Regions from separate parts of the Homo sapiens genome. Here region 2 is linked to region 1. Evidence: promoter capture Hi-C in 16 types of primary human blood cells and fetal thymus (Javierre and others, 2016). All regions are on one chromosome and are shown on one strand. Each heading gives the region's core, a stretch centred on a gene start or on the middle of the fragment in contact. The rest is flanking DNA. Distances are from core to core; before and after follow the strand shown. Region 1 has its middle 68 kb from the start of FMR1NB. Region 2 holds the start of TMEM185A (transmembrane protein 185A).

Region 1 (5,752 bases), core at 2,159-4,658:
TAAATTATAAGTTAAATGAATTAATTTTCCATAAGCTTCATGTGGTTGTGATATATTAGCATTGTTAAATATCACTAAGTTAGATTTACACACACACACACACACACATTATTAATGTGATTTTTATTTCTTGGAATGTCCTTTACAAGTTTTGGTTTTGGTGGCTTCATAAAACAAGATGAGAAGTGTTCCATGTTTTCTCTCTCTTTTTTTTTTTTTGGAAGTATTCGTGTAAGATTAATGTTATTTACTCTCCAAGTGTTGGAAACACTTTGTCAGTGAAGCCATTTAAGCCTGGAGTTTTACTTTGTGGTGAGGTTTTTAATAACAGGTTTCAGTTCTTTCATAGATCTAGGACTATTTATTTTTGTTTCAATTTTATTGAGTTGTGTTTCTTAAAGAATTTGTCCACTTTCTCTAAGGCTGCTTCTACCCTAACTCCCTTGCTCTTCTTTTCTTAGGTCCCCCAACTACACTTATATTAGTCTTTCCCACTATTATATATATATATATCTTACAACCTTTTCAGCAATATCAATGCTTTTTACTTCTACACTTCATTCTAGATACTATCTAGTGCACTAATTCCATTTTCAACTTTGCCCAATCTGCTGTTAAATCCATCTGTTGAGCTCTTAATTTTAGCTATTTTATTTCCTGTTCCAGACTTCCATTTGGCTTTTTATTGTAGATTCCAATTCTGTGGAACCTGTTCATCACAATTATTTTAAAGTCTTGGTCTGATAACTCCAATATTACCTGTTTCTGTTTCTAGCCTCTCTCTTTTTCTCTTGCTCCTATTTATTTGTATGTCAGTAATTTTTACTGAATAGATCAAGAACGTGAAGGATTAGACCCTCCTCCTCCCTGCCTATTTCTGACCCAAGAGATGAGGCCTAAACTGAGATTGAAGAGAAGATTTGAATTCAGAATGAGATTGAAGTTTTGATTTAAACTCTGAAAAGCTTTAATACCTGAAAAGAAGATTGTTTTAAAAAATGAAAGTGCTTATGTTTCTCTTATTGTTTCTTCAGAGTTTAAAAGAATACAACTCTTTGTCATATAAAAAATGGTTTTGACTGAATGCCCAACATTGTGTATGAAACATATAGAGACTCCAGATCATGTTATCTTCCTTCAGAGGATATTGCCTTTTCCTCTGTCAGGCAGCAGAGAATTAGATAAATGTAATTCAACTTGGGGCTTTGCTAACTGAAAGCTAATTTGCGGTCTTTGTATGTCCCAGTTTGCTTCTGGTTTACTCCCACTTCTAGGGCGTAGCTCTCTAGGAGTTCCAACTAAGAATCAGGGTTGTTTGTTGGAACTCCTCCTACTTATAAGGTCATGAACTCCAATTTTTCACCCTCGAACATTGTGAGCCTGCTTGCTTGCTCTACTTTGTTGATGCTTTCTGATTGGCTTCTTACCCTAATTTTCTGCACAGTTTAAACTGTAAATGCCTCTAGAAGAACACTGGTTCCAAGCGCTAGGTTCTATTCTCTGTCCCTTCTATCTCTCTGAGAGCTTGGTCTCTCAACACCTAGCTGCATTGTCCACTGAACACTTTTAATCTCCCCAGCCCCAAGAGGTGACCTAAAACTGCTCTGCTAAATTCTTTATCTCATTCTCCATGCCAAAAACATCAAGGAGGAAAATAAGTGTCCATGAAGTAAGCTCACCTTAATGAGCTCCCTTCTTTCTGGATCTAGTTTCTCAAGTCCTGGCTACCTTAGTAGCCTTCTTATTTCTTCTCAAAAAATGTTTATAAAAACCTGCCTTTTCTACTTTTTCTTGTTAAAATATTCATCTCTACTACAAGCTACTCAATCATAGAAGACCTCTGAACTCATGATTAAAATACGTGCATGCGTGTGTGTGTGTGTGTGTGTGTGTGTGAGTGTGTGTGTATGTATTTCTATCTCTGTTCATTGATTGACTGGATATAGGAGTAATGACCCTGTAGTAGCATACATACCTAACACCAAGATATTTGTTTCTATGCATCATTTCTTACTTAAACTAATCAGGTTTCTTTGGAGAAACTACTGATTTCAGTGAAAGTACAAGCACAATGTGAGCCTAGATATAGATATCTTGCTATACCAGTGATATGGTTTGGCTATGTCCCCACCCAAATCTCATCTTGAATTGTAGCTCCCATAATCCCCACATGTTGTGAGAGGGACCCAGTGGGAGGCAAATGAATCATGGAGAAGGGTTTTTTTTCCCTGCTGTTCTCATGGTAGTGAATAAGACTTACAAGATCTGATGGTTGTATAAAGGGCGGTTCTCCTGCACATGCTCTCTTGCCTGCTGCCATGTAAGACATACCTTTGCTCCTCCTTTGCCTTCCACCATGATTGTGAGGCCACACCAGCCATGTGGCACTTGAGTCCATTAAACCTCTTTTTTCTTTATAAATTACCCAGTCTCGGGTATTTCTTCATATCAGTATGAAAATGGATTAATACAACCAGAAAGTAAGAAAGTGATCAGAGAATGATGGGGACATTTCATAAGGACACAGGAAGCAACTTGAAGGGACACCCACTGGCCAAGTCTGGGATAATTTAAACATAAAAAAAATTTGGTAATAGTTTATAGTACATTGAGTTAAGAAAAAAAAATCCATAAATTCATGGTAATATTCAAAGTAAAATAAAAGGAGAGGAGAAAAAAGAATTCCCAGTGTGTTTTTTTTAAAACAGAAGAATGCCAGCTACTAAATGTAGAAGGAATAAAATAATTAGAAAAGCAATACTTTTTAACACCCAAAGTAATAATTGGCTCAGGTAAGGATCATCAGAGGATGCTAATATGACTGGGTAAAATGTTGAAAATAAGTCTCAAAATATCACTCTACAGACTACTTTTAAAGAGAAAAAATGTGCTTTCTCAATGGAAAAGTCTGGTGGTCATCACTTTAACCAAGTGGTCAAGCTTGGCAATGCCAATAGTGGTTTTGCTTGATGATGTGCCTTCAGTATGATCAAGAGGAAGGTACACAACGTCATTTATGTGATGTTCTTGCTGGAAATGTTTGATCTAACTATCATAGCGAGGAAAGAGGCAATTCTAGAATGTGAGGTATGATGGAGGACATCCTACCTGGACTCTTTAAAGAGACACTCAAATGCTCTGAGTGAATCTTGAGTGGATCTTGGATTGGAAAAACAGAAGCTATAAAGGATATTTTGGAGGATAATCGAAGGAATTTTAGTGAAGACTGGATGCTGGATGATATTGAATTCATGGTGACTTTCTTAGGTGTGTTGGTATTGTGGTTATAGGAATCAGTTTATTCTTGGAAAATACATCCTGAAATATTTTGCAGTGAAGTGTCATGATGAAAGCAACCTACTTTTGTATGATTTGGAAAAAAAGGATGTGTGGGTATGGGTGTGTATTTAGATAAATAGAGTGGATGTATCCAGATGTTAACAGTTGGCAAACATAGGTGAGAGGTATGCAGGTCTTGAAAATTAGAAGAAAAAACTCTTGTAGCGTTTTATTTTTTCAACGAAAATCCACAAGATGGCAGTAGAGGAACACCCTCAGAATGGGTTTCTTGGGGGCCTCTTATAAGGTGACATTTTCTGATTTGAAAAGCAGGATGAGAGATCCAACAAAGGATTGTTTTGGCTTTGTGAATACATTTACATGTAATGTTATACAAAGGTATGAAGACAAAATGCCGTTTGGTTGTATCATTCTATGAATTGCTTTCATCGAAATAAATACCATTTTGTTAAATTTGGTCCATAAACTCCTGAAATGTGTCCAAAATGTTATGTGTATGAGCATTCTCCTTTTATGATGAGAATATCTACAGTTTCTACTATGTCTCAAAGGGGTCAATTATTGCTCCCCAAACTTAGAAGCTTGAGGGGTTCAAGAAAGTGGCACTAGATCAATGCCTTAATCACATCAGAACTGGTAGTAGTTTAAGCCATTTCTCTTTAATATGTGCTTTGAAAGTGAGTTTAGTGAAGTGCTCTGGCAGTGCTTATTTGTTAAATGGATTGATGTAGGAACTAGTGGATGTGGATGGATAGGAGTCAGAAGACCTGGGTGTGAATGTAGCACTTATGCCATCCTCTTCCCCAACATCTTTCCCCAAACACACACACCAAGTTAAAACTGTAGCCAGCAAGATGTTTGTGGTCACATAAAACAATTCTCCCCCAAACAAAATCAGTTGTTTGCCTGTATTTCATTTTTTTACTCCCCAAACAGAAACAGCTTATTGGTCAGTGGAGATGCCTGCAATATAAAATTTTCTCTTTATAAACATTTGTGAAAAGAGTTCATATTTTTAGGGCAACATGAGCCAAGCTTGTAATTGCGGGAAGCTTCTAGTCTTCTGTGAGTGTCAGCTTGCCTCTTGTTCCCACCTTCAACCCCTGCCACCCCAAGAGTTTTGGTTTGGATCAGGACTAGGTTTCTATAAACTGCAACGTGAGCTGCTAGGTGATCACAGTAAGAGCCAAGCCACATAATGCTCTTCTTTCGATTCATTGGGCAGATAGTTGTCTTAGAAACTTACATGATGACTTGATTGTAAAATAAAATCCCTGTTGAGCAACTTGATCTGGCTATTTGGGTGGAATGGATTTTTTTAAAAGTGTAAACTAAGGGAAAATAAAATACTCATTTAAAATGTGTTGGCAGCGTGTAGTTGGCTTAAAATGTCATTTACTGAGTTGTTACCATTTTTGCTCTCTCAATTTTATTAGTATTAAAAATTCATTATTGAGGGACCATGAGCTACATGCAATTAGTAATGTGACTGAAAGTGAGAGACTAAATAGTAAGATGGTCATGTCTTTAGAAATAAACTTTTAACTTCTCTTTACTGCATTCCCCATGGAAATACCATGTTGTGCCATGTTGTTCCTTAAAAGAGCTTACGTTCAGTAGAGAACTGGTGAAATAAATAATGACACATTCATATATTGAGATTGTATGTAACTGTTGAAAATAATGACATAGATTCATATATATTGACATGGAAAGATATCCAAGCTGAACTGTAGGAGAAACAGAGCAAGTTGCAGAGCTATATGTAAAGCAGAATACTATTTTGGAGTATACATTTGCTATTATATGTTCAGAAAATAAGATATGGGAGATCATATAAAAATTTGCTTAAAGCGATTTATTTATGTTGTGGGGAAAGGAGTAGTATTGTAGTACAAGGGAACTTATGTTTTGTGTTTCATATGTTTTTCTGTTGTCTGGATTTTTAAAAATGAGAATGTAGTCTGAATAAATAATGATATAAAGGGAGTGTATGTTGGCACTATCCTTTGAGACCTTCATGTGCTAAATATAATTGTGCAGTATGATCAGTTCTGTCATTCATCTTGAATAGACAACAGCTAAAGAGAGCCAGCTGGTTAACTTATAAGTTATATCCCTTCCACATTCAAAGATGTTTACAATATTAATAGACTGAAATGAAACAATAAAAAACAAATGTATAAACTAAAAAAGACAAATTATTTAGAACGAATGAGATAACTCTTTAGAAGGAATGAGATAACAGGACCTGGAATATGGAATGACTTCTCTACAGAATATAGCAAAAAGTTTACCTCTGAGCTTTCTGGTATCCAAGGGGAAAAGGAAAATATGTTGGCTCTATATATTTCTTCCAAAGTAAGAATGCTACAAAGAAATTAATCATACGGCATCACATATGTGACACTGACATATTGGACAATGTTTTAAAAACAATTTTGCTTATAAT
Region 2 (5,443 bases), core at 1,448-3,947, 1.6 Mb after region 1:
ACTACAGGAACTGTAGAAACAGGGAGCAGTAAATCTGGTCAGGGAAGTCAGGAATGCTTCCCTTAGCAAGTGCCAAGTGAGGATAAATAGGAGTTCACTAGGTCTGGAGGAGAGGAAAAGAGAGGGAAACATTCCTGGTAAAGAGAACAGTGTGTGACAAGGTCCTGGGGTAGGAGGGAGATGTTGAATTGGTTCAAAAATAGAGGCAGGGAGCAAAGCAGTAGCATCAAGGTTTGAGTCCCCAGCATAAGGTAACTTCCTGTGTACACCCCTCAGTTTTCTTTCTCCTATAGAGAAGGCCTTCCTCAGCATGGAAGGAGACTAAAGCACACTGTCAAAAACTAGGAGTGCTCAGGAGAGGTGAAACACTACCAGCTAAAAAAACAAATCTGATTTACCAATAATACCTGGCCAATGTCCTCTTGAAATATCTGTAAAATTAAGGAACTCACTACCTCTGGCAACAATGAATCAGGAAAATGGCACAGTATAAAAGACCTTTAAACTTTTCAGGTAGAAATACATTTTAATGCAGGTAGAATTAAGAGATTGATGAATATGTTGAGAATTACTATAAATCTGCTTAGATACCAGGTATTTCACTGTAATTTCATATACTAATTTTTTTGGGGGGAAAAGGGCTAAAGGAAAAAACGGTTAAAGGTAGTATCAGTGCAGCACTATTTTGCTTTGGCAACTCCGTTAGCCTGTTTGATCACTTAAGGCAGTTTCTTGAGGCTTCTGAATTCTCTGTCACCTTGCAAACAAGTCACTGTAGCTTTCTATTTGTAAGGCACTTTGTAATCAATCCTTAATTGGCCTCCCTACCCCACTGAGAGATTATACTCATTCTACAGATAAAACAATAGATAAGTGAGTTGCCCAAGGGCACAAAACAATTCAGTTTTTACTTAACTTTCTTATCACCATCTCCAAATAGAAGACATACAGGGCTTGTCCAGCCACAGCACCAACCCTACTACCCTGCAGACCAATCTTAACCCCCTGATGCAGCAGAGGAAGGGACTGCAGTTAGTTCTGTTACCTCCTCTATGCCTTCGAAGCCAACAATGATAATGTCTGCACCGTGTTAGAGACACTGGCACTCCTAACCAGAACATGAACTCAAAGTGGAATAAGAGCACATACAAAGTCACAATGACTCACAAGTTAAAATGTCACCATCCCTAGGGAGACTGCACCCTCAACATACAAATACTCCCCTAAAACTTCCTTTCATCCTCAACAAGCAGCCAAGGCATAGGTCCCCAGAGTTGGCCCCCGCAGTACAGCACTGCACAGTACTGTAAGGCATCTTAAGTGTACAAGCCCTTCTTCACCCCATGCTGAGACCGCCAGCATCTAAAGCACCTAACATAGGTTACAGCACACAAATATTTACTGAGCACGTCTTCCCAACTGGCAAATAAGGGAAACGGATACTCCTTTCGGAGAGTAGTGCATTTAAGAGATCAGTTAGGCCAACTCCTCATTTTACAGAAGGGCCAAAGAAGGGCAGAGAATCACCCAGTTACATATGGCCTCGTCTCCAATCCAAGTCTTTGGGCTCAGTTTAGTTCCACAAACATTTTATATGTGCCTACTATGTGCCAGATACGGTGGGTGGGAGGCGCTGGGGACACTGAGATGAGCAGGAGATGGTCTCAGCTTCAGGGAGCTCACAGCCTGGGGTAAAGAACAGTTACAAAACAGTCGGGCAAGTGCAAGGACAGGCGCTTGAGTGCTTAGCCAGTGTTTTCTCCACACTGTCCACTGGGTGTTCCCCATCTGGAAAAGAAGGACAGCAATATCTACTTCCTGCAAATAAACTTGTAGTGAAGACTGATGAGAAAATGAGTATGGAAAATGATCAGGCTCACCCAGAAATGCATTATATAAGGTATTGCCATACCCCGACACTGACTCCAAGGATTCAACAGTGTTTCAGGTATCCGTTCAACAAAGAAGCAAACAAGAGAGGGATGGGCATAAACCCAAGGAAAACCCCAAGGACTGCGAGGAACTGGAGGAAACAGCTGGGGTGGGGGTAGGGGTGTTGGGTCGAGTGAGACGGCCCTGACGCGGAGAATGGAGGGCCCGCAGCGGCGCAGAAGAGGATGGAACCGAGACGAAGAAGTTGGGACACCAATGAGGGACAGCAAGCAGAAAAGAATGGGGTTCCCTTGGGGCAGGACGGGGCTCGCGGCCGGGCCCTTCCGGCCGTGGCCGGGCAGGGGCTGAAAGCACCGGGCACGGGAGGAGGAAGCGGGCGGGCGCCGAGGCCGACTGTTTTGCCTGGGGACCGCTTGCACCCGCAGGGAGGCTCGGGCAGGCGCCCGGGTCCTCGGGCTGCAGCATCTCGCCCGCCGTGCCTCCCCGGAGCCGAACACCAGCCCGCGCCCGAGCCCGCAGCGCGGACTCCCGGGGGCGCCAACGACGCCGCCTCACCTCGGGTTGAAGTCCTGGAAGAGGCCCCTCAGGTTCATGGCGGAGAACTTCACCGCGGCGTCCTCCTCCTCCTCCCCCGCACCCCGTGCTGCACAGCCTGCGCCTTACAGCGGGTTCATGGCGCCAGCGCCAGCCGCGTCCACGCTGCTGCTCCCGCTACTGCTGCCGTCCCCGCTGCCGTCGCCGTCGCCGTCGCCGCCGCCGCCGCCGCCGCCGCCGCCGCCGCCGCCGCCGCCGCCCGGAGAAACCTGAGCCACCGCCCCCTGCCCCTCCTTCCGGGCTTCCGTACGAGGGCCGCGCATGCGTCCGGAGCCCCGCCCAGAGCGCTCCTCGCTGGGAGGTCCCCATCCTTGTGTCCGCACGCGACCGGCGGAGGAGATGGCAGGGGGATGGAGGCTGGGAGTGAGCAGGGCCCCGAGGAAGGGGATGCTGACGGGCTGAAGGCCTGCAGGGAGGGAGCGCGCCGCCCGGGAGTCTGGCGGGCAGATCTTGGCAGACACCTGTCACCTTGGCCCGCGCTACCTTCTGGAGATTTTCCCCAGTGACGACTGAGCCCTGGGAGTAGTGACAATGAGTGAGACGTTGCATTTTTGGCGATGTCATCCCAGGCTTCACCTGTCACATCTGTCAACGACTCCAAAGTTTGGGTCCCAACTTCCCTTCCAATTCCCAAGCCAGCGTGTCCAGATATGCTGGCTATTCCCTACTCAAGTTACCTAGCACCAAAGTCACTTCCCGTGCCAACCGCCTTCCCCTCCTGGGTTCCCTTTTTCCCTTAGCAGCAGGCCTATTCGTACGCAGGGGGGTATTCAAGCAGGAGACGTGGAAATCATCCTCATTTTTCTAACCCAGTTCAGAGCCTCCTTGGATCCTGTCTAAACTTTGTGGTCACTTCACACCTGACCTCTGCCTCCACTCCAGGCTGCCCTACTTACAAGTACCAGGTTCATCTTCCTTGGGCAAGTCAACATCTTTGAGTCTCAGTTTTTCTCCTCCGCAGAATGGAAATGATAAAAACCTCTTTTCTAAGCGTGTTAGGAAGATTCAGTGAGATCGTGTGCATAACACACTGCCTGGTACATGCTAGGTGTACAAAGAATGCTGTTGCTATCTGGTACTCTTTCAGGTGTCAACCTCCTCAAGGATTTTGTTTGCTTTTGGAATCCAAGAGCAGGACAAGCTCATAGCAGGTGACCTAGTTTACCATCTTCACTTTGGGCAGATTTAAGTTTTCATGAGCACAACAATGCCTTAAACATTAGTCTACTATCATTATGGATAATAGTCATCCTTTGTTGCAATAGCAGAGTTTCACAAATGACAATTTTATACTGTTTAGCCCCAAGGGCAGCTTGAGAGAATCACAATTGCGATAGTCATACTTAGTCTTGATGTATCACCTTTCTTCTGAGAACGTAAAAACATATCATAAGTGGTAATTAAGCTTCCCAACACCCACTGGGAAATGGATATTATTATATGAGCTGATTTTAAGGTTGAGTAATCCAAATCAAGTTTTCATCTGCTGAAGCACCAGGACCCTGTCCCAGACTTTTTCACCCATCTTCCTTTCCCATCCTCTGGGTAAAGTCCAATGTGTAGCCCAGAGGAGGTTCTCAATGAACACTCAAATACAGACGAGGAATTAAGGCGCAGAGAAGCTTGTATAACAGGCCCTGAGCGAGCCAGCAAGTAAGGGTGAAGGAGCACAGATGAAACTCAGGGTCTAGCTGAACCTGCAGCCCATACTGTTAGAAAGAGGTGCTTGCCAGTGGTCAGATTGGACAGCACCATCTTCATTACCAGTGACCGTGCCCCAAGCAGGCATGAGAAGATGGTCTGCCAGTTCAGACACTTGAATAACAGGCATCACTGCCCTTTCAAGAGCTTCATAGATAGAGACCAGGCAGGCTCCTCAGAGTCCAGAATCTTGAGGGCAGACGCTACTTTAATGAGATCCCAGGGAGTCTGGGAGCTGAACCACTGCTCTGCAGGCCCACAAGTTCAATTTTAGCAGTTCTTCCAGAGTTGACCAGGCCCTGGAAGCTATCTAGCAAAGGCAACAGGACACTGATGCACAAATTACTTGTCAGTGTGTTCTTTTGCTCTGACAAGGTAAATTGCCAAGAGGAACATATGAACCTGTCTGTGAGGAAATACAGGAAGAACTGGACTTTCCCAAGGCTTCACATCCCCAGTCTTCAAGAGGTGGATTACCTGGACTGATTCTGGAAGCCCAACCCTTTATGCTACTGGTGCTCTCATGGGGAAAAAAAAGCCAGAAACCAGATGGCCATCTGGTCCTCTCTCCAGCAAGTGCAAAAGACCCTACTGACAACCTGCTGCTCACTTCAGAGCCCTCACTCAGTGTCCCACCCTAGATGGAGGTCCAAAGCCTCAATGACCTGTGTAGACAGACCCACAAGTGATCCTGACATTAAAGAAAGACCCTGGGTCATATGCAGGCACCAGGAGTGCTGGGAAGCTTAATTACCACTTATTAAATGTTTCTACATTCTCAGAAGAAAGGTGATACATCAAGGCTAAGTATGACTAGTGGAGAAGATGACACCCACATCTTCTCCACTAGCAGAGTTTGACTTTATCTTTTCCTTGACTTGCCAAAAAATTCCAGGGCTATCTTGCTAGGGGCTCCCAACATTCTTCACTCAAAGGAAAGAAATGGCTCTGGATTGAAAAAGTATGACCCCCAAATAAGCCAGACAGCATATTCTTGGTGACTTTGGGGTGGGCTTAGGTTACAGTGTTCCAGAAGAATCAGTGTATATCTGACCATGGTTTTAAGGACTAACTTGGATTTGTACCACCCTTCTGATAAGCTGGTGGCTTGTCCAATTCAATATTCACATTGGCTTCAATGTGGTGATATAGGATGCCTCTCCTCTGAAGAGCAAGGCACTGGTGAAGAGAATCCTGGTGAATTTAGACACTTGGACTGGGGAGACCTGGCATAGGGGAAGAAAATGGCCGTGGA

What was found. Contacts are between HindIII fragments. The CHiCAGO score rates a contact against its expected background, and 5 or more counts as called.
Region 2: the fragment with the promoter of TMEM185A here is called in contact with a fragment that was not itself captured in region 1 in 1 of 17 cell types (M1 macrophages); the score reaches 6.0 in M1 macrophages.

Annotation. Positions count from the first base shown.
Region 1 is chrX:148,046,098-148,051,849 of GRCh38, forward strand. No RefSeq gene overlaps it. Among named protein-coding and RNA genes, the nearest start is that of FMR1NB, 68 kb to the left of the region's middle. The HindIII fragment of the contact is 941 bases long and covers 2,939-3,879 here.
Region 2 is chrX:149,629,095-149,634,537 of GRCh38, forward strand. It overlaps TMEM185A (transmembrane protein 185A), which reads right to left and starts at 2,698. Exons shown (of 7, transcript NM_032508.4): 1 at 2,449-2,698. The coding sequence starts at 2,486. RefSeq lists silencers at 2,191-2,240, 2,251-2,660. The HindIII fragment of the contact is 7,464 bases long and covers 1-3,890 here.